2 separate regions of the Homo sapiens genome follow, and region 2 is linked to region 1. Evidence: promoter capture Hi-C in 16 types of primary human blood cells and fetal thymus (Javierre and others, 2016). All regions are on one chromosome and are shown on one strand. The core of a region is centred on a gene start or on the middle of the fragment in contact, and the rest is flanking DNA. Distances in the headings are between cores, read along the strand shown.

Region 1 (3,952 bases), core at 383-2,882:
AGTCCAAGTAGCTCAGCCTGGCCTCCAGGAGCCCCAGAGCTGGCCCTGTCCCTCCCGCTCCTGCCTCTTGTCTGTGGCCACTCTGAACTACACAGTGTTCCCAAACCTGCTGAGCTCTGATTCCTTTGCCTTCAGTGACCAGTGACGTTTGTTGTTGAAAGGAGGGAGGGAGGAAGAGGCCAGCCCCTGGCCGCCCCATAATCAGGGGTGCATCAGGGCTAAGACCAGGCCTAGTGTGGAATTCCCCTCTGACTGATGGTTTCTCAGCCCTTACTGGAGGCAAATCCTTGATTGTTTGGCTCATCTGTGCAAAGGGGGTATACAGGAATGTGTAAAATGTCTAAAAACCCTTAGAACAGAGACACAGCTCAACCAGAAGGGATGCTAGGGCAGGGTCCTGGAGGGCCTGCTTTGCCAAGGGGGAGTTTTTTCACTACAGAATTGTGGGGGAGTTTCTGAGGAAGTACGTGTGTGTGTGTGTGTGTGTGAGAGAGAGAGAGAGAAAGAGAGATGGCTACTGAGCAATGTGTTCAGAGTGTGTCAATATTTTAACAACCAGGAGAGTGGTATCTGTGTACAGGCTGAACCTCAGCCCTGGAAGCAGCAGTTCCTACCTTGTCTGGTGCCAGCAGATGAAAGGAAAAACCCCACGGACTCCTAGTCATTCTCCCTTCCCAAGCCACAGATCCAGACCCTCCTAGAAAATGTTACCTTTGGCAGAGCTATTGTTTGGGCAAGGGTGATCTCTCTGGCCACAAATCAGTGGTGGGGTGGGTAAGGGGCCATGCTCATGCCCTCCAGTGTGAGCCCAGCCCAGGGTCCAGGCCAGGTCTGTGCCAAGCAGAGGTCAGCACATTTCTTCATTTCCTTCACAATAGCCCTGCAAGGCCAGCATTGTTGTCCCCGTTCTGCAGATGGTGAAGTCGAGGCTTGGAGAGGTCAGGCATGGGCTGGCTAAAGTCAGTTGCCCAGCTGAGTCTGACTCCGGGTTTCCTGGTACCCAGCATGCCCACTCCACAGTCCACTCTCAGTCTGCACCTTCTCCCCACCCTTCTTTTCTTTCCCTGTTTCTCTCACTTACCCTACTACCAGCCCCAGTTTCCTCCTCCCTGAGCGCACAGAAGGAAATCTCTCCTCTCTGAGCAGGCTGCAGAGCCCAGAACTTTCCCGTCATCGCCCAGAGGCTTTCCCACACCACTTGGCAGCCTGCAGACTGGTCTTCATCCAAGTGCCAAAGGAGAACCCACAGTGCAAGCCAGGAAGAGTAAGTAACCTGCCCAGAGCAGCAGACGGTGACTTCTACCCCACTCCACCCCCAAGAAGCCTCTGGGCAGGCCCAGGAGTTCTCTCTGGGCAGGGGCTCTGAGCGCAACAAAGCCCCCTTTAGGATAAATGTCTTGCCACCATCAATGTGCTGTGTGCACCTGGTGTGGCTGCTCTGCCCCACCTGAGTGCGGTGGTCTCCCGTCTTACAGTGCAGCCCAACTTACCCAGTGCCAAGAAGGAGAAGACAAACTGTAGGACAGCAAGTGTCTGCAGCCTGCGCTCCCACGGCATAAACAAGGGCGCGAACTCTACCATGCTGGCGGGTCAGCCTGGCTCCCGCAGGTTCTGTGAGCTCTGCTGTGGTCTGAGGCACCCACAGGTTTTTGTTCCCTCCCCAGGTTGTAGAAGCTGGCAGGGAGAGTGCCACACCCAGCCCAGCCCAGCCCAGCCCCAAGGCCTCCTTGCCCCTGCTGAGGCAGGAAATTCTATCCTACAAGAAACCTTTGAATCTACCTGCTGGAGCCTGGCTAAGGAAGGAGGAAGAGAAGGGGTTGTATAGCCTTTATCAACTTTCTCAGGCAATGCCTTATCTGCATGGCTGCCTTTCCCCAATTGCTTAAATCTTGTCCTTCCTATAACTAGGCAGGTGAAGCCCCAAGCATATGCAATCTCACCCCCTTCCCACCTATTCAATGACCTGGCCCCAAGGTCAATGGATAGGATAACCTTGTCCTGTCCATTGTTCCCCCTCCACACATATGCTGTACTAACTCCCACCTAAAAATCCCCACCCACACTGTGTCCTCCACCTCCTGCCCCATTTTTCTGCTCACTCACACAGCAAACTCTCGGAAGAGCTATCTTTCATGCCTTCCTGTCCTCACCTCCCATCTGTGGTACCACAAATGGTGGTCCACACTTCAGGTATCACCCTTCCACAAAACTGCCCTTGGCAAGTTCCCTAGTGACCTCCATGATGTTAAATCCAGTAATCAATTCTCAGATCTCATCCTGACCTATTGGCAGCATTAGATATGGTTGATCATTCCCGTTTCTTTGAAACCACTTGGCCTTTGGACACTATGCTCTCCCAGTTTTCTTCCTAGCTCTCTGGCTGCTCCCTTTGTGCCTCTCGTCTTTCACCAGGCCAGCTGTTCGAGTCCCCCTCCTCCACTCCATCCTCGGGACTTCTCTTTTCTCTCCAGTTTCTGCTCTCTGAGATCTCATCCAGGCTCACACCTTGCATTGTATTTACACAGCAAAGACTTCCAAATCTGCATCTGCAGCTCTGCTCCCTGGGGCTCTAAACTTGAATCTCTAGGTGGCTCCTTGACATCTTCACTTGAATGCCTGATAGGCACCTCCATCGTAGCATGTCTAAAGGTGAACTTGATTCCCTCCCCCACCTCCCTTCTGCCCCACTGACTCCTCCTCTGCTCTTTCCCATCTCAGTAAAGGGTAATGCCATTTACCCAGTTGCTCAGGCCAAAACCTGAGTCACACTAGATCCCTTCTGTTCTTCTCCATCCACCTCTACCAGTCACCATGTCCTATCAGTTCTTCTAAGTCCCTCCTTTTAAATGTCAACTTCAAATTGACGTATACCATACATACGGAAAAATGCACAAATCCTAAGCGGACAGAGAAATGTCTTTTCACAAAGTGAAAGTTATCACCACTCTGATCGACAAACAGAACTTACCTAGCACCCCTTCTGGCCTTGCCAGTCACTGCTCTCCTCCCTGTAGCTCAGCACCATCCTCATCTCTGTTCTTGAACTTTATGAAAACTGAATCATTTAGTGTATACTCTTTTGAGACATCATATGTGCCTGTATTGCCTTTGTTTTCATTGCTGTATAGCATTCCATTGTGTGAATATGCCACAAAGTGTCCATTTGGACGCTGACAGGCATTTGGGCTGTCACCTGTTTCTGGCTATTATGAATATTGCTGCTACGAACATTCCTGTACATGTCTTTCAGTACACATCTATACACATTTCTGTTGGGTATGTGCCTGGAAATAGAATTGATGGGTCTCATGGTAGATAGCCATAGAGTTTTCCAAAGTGGTTGTACAAATCTACACTCCCATAGCCTTATATAAGAATTCCGAGTTCTGAATTTTGGTGGGTGTGTAGTGGTCCTTCATTGTGGTTATAGCATTTTCCTAACAACTAATAAATATAAGCACATTTTAATATGCTTACTGACCATTTGGATATCATTTTCTATGACCTTCTTGTTCTAGTGTTTTGTTGATTTCAGTCTCTTGAACTGAACAGCTGCTGTCTACCTCCACAGCCAGCCTCTTTTATAGACTGGCTCTGTCTTCCTTATTGGCCTCTCCGTTTACTTTCTATCCTCATTCTCCTCTCCACAATTTCAACACAGCAGGAGAAACTGCTGGGTTTATGAATATGTGAATGTTCAAGTTTGGGAGTAGAGCCAAACTGTTTTCCAAAATAATACATCAAGGTATAGTCTCCCCAAGAATCGAGAGACCCCACCCCCACCCCCATGGATCTGCTCTGACCCTTGGTATGGTCAGACTTCTTCTTGTCTTGCTAGGGTATGAAATGAGACCAAATTTTACTCTTGATTTTCATTTTCTTATCACTAATTTTTTTTTTTTGAAACCAAATCTCCCACTGTCGCCCGGGCTGGAGTGCACTGGCACCATCT
Region 2 (3,952 bases), core at 436-2,935, 320 kb after region 1:
TAAGTTCATAAAGGATAAACCTGCCGGGCGCGGTGGCTCACGCCTGTAATCCCAGCACTTTGGGAGGCTGAGGCAGGCGGATCACGAGGTCAGGAGATCCAGACCGTCCTGGCTAACACGGTGAAACCCCAACTCTACTAAAAACACAAAAAATTAGCAAGGTATGGTGGCGGGCGCCTATAGTCCCAGCTACTCGGGAGGCTGACGCAGGAGAATGGCGTGAACCCGGGAGGCGGAGCTTGCAGTGAGCCGAGATCGCGCCACTGCACTCCAGCTTTGGGGACAGAGCAAGACTCCGTCTCAAAAAAATAAATAAATAAATAAACCAACTTAGCATTTATAACAATTATAGGTGATGGCCAGTCAAATGAGTTTTACCTGGTGGCTAAGATAATGATTTCTGTCCTGGTTGGTGTAACTCGCACCTCAACTCCAGAGTAGCCATCTTCAGCCAGCTCCCGAGTAAGAAACTCATTCAGTTCAGCTTTGAAGATGCCATCAGCGACAAACTAATCCAAACAAAGCAAAGTTCAAAATTAGGAGATCGGTGTAGGCTCACTTTCGCCTGAGCCAGTCTAGTCTTATTAGTCAATGCATCCCTCACCAAAACTAAATACCTCCAACCAATGGTTCCAAACCCTTGTTCCAACAGGAGTGCAGCAACCCTTCTCAGACAAATGCCTCTAAGTCATCTTTAGGAAATTACTTCAACCAGGGCTCTTTAAACTGTGCCACAGAACGCAGCACAGAGTAGGCCACCTGGGCAAAGAGAACATCCCCAAGTCAGACTCGTCATCATCTCTTCATCGAAGGGTTTAAAACAGTTCCACATGCAAAACAAGAAACTGCTCTAATGGCCTATTTACACTTCATTCAGCACAGCAAAGACACTGTACTTGTCACTGTTAAGGAATAGATAGTAGACTTAACATATAAGCTCTCTCACTTGTAGACACAACCTGCACCGTCTAAAGAATCCCAGCCATGTTATTTGGCTTTACGGTACCAACAGAGCTGGCAAATCCTAACTCTCGAGAAGTTGTGGATTTAATTTTGACATCGAAGTGTATATACGAAATGACAAACTGTCTATTTTTAAAGCTAATGATTTTTACACAGTTCTATCCCATGTAATGACAAGGCGTTAAATCCGAGGCAGCTTCCTCCCGGGGTCCCCAGACGGAGCAAGCAACCGTCAGCAACCCTTCAAGTTGAGGTCCTGGGGCCAGCGGACTGTACCCAGAAACGACCAGTTAAGGCAAGAATACACTGCTGCCTTCTCTTCCCAAAACCACGGGATAAGACATGAGGGAAATGACACACGCCCTCAAAATACCACGTTTACTAATTCCGTTGACCGACAAATGCTCACAAACGCCTTCTCCGGGACAGAAGGGGCGCCTGGTGCCCATCTCTCTGCGCTTCACTTGGAACCCGGCCACACAGCGCCCTCCTGGCTGGGGCCTCTCACTCAATCCACCGCCATCCGCGGCCCGCAGGAACGCCAGGAAGCCTAGGCCGCTTCCAGGGCAGGCCACGGAGCTGCAGGCCTCGCGGTGGCACCCCGAGAAGCCCTCGACCCGCGCGGCGCCGTCGTTCTCCGAACCCAGTCCCCAGAGGCTCACCTTCCTCTTCTTGGATATTTGCACTGCCATCTTGCCGCCGCGCTCCGCTGAAAGGAAAGGAAGTGGCTCGCGGGCGGAAGTGAGTATAAAGGGCGCGAGCGACGACGGAGGGCTGCGCTGCGTGCACGCCTGTGGGTGCTCATGGGAAATGTAGTTTTTACGTAAGTAAGGCGTCCAGGGAAAGAAGAATGTAGGCAGGAACAGGAAAGGGGCTTCATCCAGCAGGACTTCTAAACTTCAGGGGACCTTAGAGTTCAATTCTCATAGTTTCAAAACAAGCAATGTGAGGTGCAGAGGTGGAAATTACAGGTATAAGTTCACACAGCAAGAGAGATTAACCAGCGTGGAACTCTGGCCCCTACACTTTCAGGGTGGACACTGTAATGAAAATCTGCTGAAATCCCTCAGTGAAACTCATTTAAGACTCCTCTTTGGGAGGCCAAGGCGGGCGGATTACTTGAGGTCAGGAGTTCGAGATTAGCCTGGCGAACATGGTGAAACCCCGTCTCTACTAAAAATAGAAAAATTAGCTGGGAGTGGTGTCGGGCACCTGTAATCCCAGCTACTCGGGAGGCTGAGGTGGGAGGATTGCTTGGACCTGGGAGATGGAGGTTGCAGTGGGCCAAGATCCTACCACTGCACTCTAGCCTGGACCACAGAGTGAGACTCTGTCTCAAACAAACAAACAAACAAACAAACAAAACAACTCATGTCCCCCAGTCTGTACCCATTTCCTCCATTCCAAATGATAATAATAAAACCTGATACTTACTAAGTGTCCTAGGGACTGCGTTCTGTGTCCTTTATGTTGTTCTCATTTACCCCACCTTACTTTCATCAAGTCCATTACAATTTGTAACAGAAGTCCCAGAAGGTCCCATGGGCCCGCCCTTCCTTCCTTCCTTCCTTCCTTCCTCTCTCTTTCTCTCTCTCTTTCTCTCCTTTCTTTCTTTTCTCTCCGGTTGCCCAAGCTGGAGTGCAGTAGTACGATCTCAGCTCCCTGCAACCTCCACTTCCCAGGTTCAAGTGATTCTTCTGCCTTGGCCTCCTGAGTAGCTGGGATTACAGGTGCACACCACCACACCCAGCTAATTTTTGTATTTTTAGTAGAGATGAAGTTTCACTATGTTGGCCAGGCTGGTCTTGAACTCCTGACCTCAAGTGATCCACCTGCCTTAGCCTCCCAGAGTGCTGGGATTACAGGCATGAGCCACCGTGCCTGGCCTTCTTTTTCAATTAAAAAAAATTCTAGCCAGGTGCAGTGGCTCAGGCCTGTAATCTTAGCACTTTGGGAGGCCAAGGCAAGTGGATAGCTTGAGGCCAGAAGTTTGAGACCAGTCTGGGCAACAGAATGAGACACCCTCATCTCTATGAAAAGTGAAAAAAGAAAATTATCCAGGTGTGGTGGTGTGTGCCTGTAGTCCCAGCTACTCTGGAGGGAGATGTGAGAGGATTGCTTGAGTACAGGAGGTCTAGGCTGCAGTGAGCCGTGATTGTGCCACTGCACTCAGCCCGGGCAACAGAGTGAGACTCAGTCTAAAAAAAATAAAAAATTAAAAATGTCCCTTCATTTTTTAATGAAGCTTACAGAACAGTTGAAAAAACTGTACGTGTATGCATCACCAAGCTGAGGGGGAATTGAGAATGATGCTACAATTAATATTTTGCTGTTGCTTTATCGTGGATCTACTCATCCCTGTAGCCACCCACCAATACATCTTTTGAGGCATTTCAAAGTAAGTTGCAGACATTGGTAAACTTTACCCCTAAACACTTCAATAACAGTTTTATTTTATTTATTTATTTATTTTTGAGACGAAGTCTTACTCTGTTGCCTAAGCTGGAGTGCAGTGGTGCGATCGCCGCTCACCGTAACCTCCACCTCCCGGGTTCAAGCGATTCTCCTGCCTCAGCCTCCTGAGTAGCTGGGACTACAGGCAAGCACCGCCATGTCCAGCTAATTTTCATATTTTTAGTAGAGATAGGGTTTCACTATGTTGGCCAGGCTTGTCTTGAACTCCTAACCTTGTGATCCGCCCACCTCGGCCTCCAAAAGTGCTGGGATTACAGGCGTGAGCCACCGCACCCAGCCAACAGTTTTATTTTAAGTTTGAATAGTTTTCTTCATTTAAAAGTCAGGGTATTTCTCTCTAAAACTATTTTAGGTTTTTCTTAAGGATATAGAAATATCTAGCAAAATAGTGAACCCACATTTCTTCATGGGCAGTGCTCTCCTTTCCTGTTACACAAAAAGAGTCTTTCCAAGGTGCCACACTCCCTGGCAGCACCACTCAGTTATTTTCTGGTCCTAGAAGCCATTGGAGTGT

What was found. The method cuts DNA at HindIII sites, captures the fragments that hold promoters and counts their contacts. A CHiCAGO score of 5 or more calls a contact.
Region 2: a contact is called between the fragment with the promoter of RPS3 here and the fragment with the promoter of MOGAT2 in region 1, in 2 of 17 cell types (erythroblasts and megakaryocytes). The highest score is 7.3, in erythroblasts.

What each region holds. Positions count from the first base shown.
Region 1 is chr11:75,715,518-75,719,469 of GRCh38, reverse strand. It overlaps MOGAT2 (monoacylglycerol O-acyltransferase 2), which reads right to left and starts at 1,632. Exons shown (of 6, transcript NM_025098.4): 1 at 1,491-1,632. The coding sequence starts at 1,581. It overlaps LOC105369392 (a long non-coding RNA gene), which reads left to right and starts at 1,185. Exons shown (of 3, transcript XR_950316.4): 1 at 1,185-1,264. The HindIII fragment of the contact is 5,505 bases long and covers 1-3,952 here.
Region 2 is chr11:75,397,251-75,401,202 of GRCh38, reverse strand. RPS3 (ribosomal protein S3) reads right to left here and starts at 1,685. Exons shown (of 7, transcript NM_001005.5): 1 at 1,626-1,685; 2 at 379-509. The coding sequence starts at 1,655. SNORD15A (small nucleolar RNA, C/D box 15A) reads right to left here and starts at 812; the gene lies at 665-812. RefSeq lists enhancers at 259-1,122, 1,349-1,708. The HindIII fragment of the contact is 4,256 bases long and covers 1-3,210 here.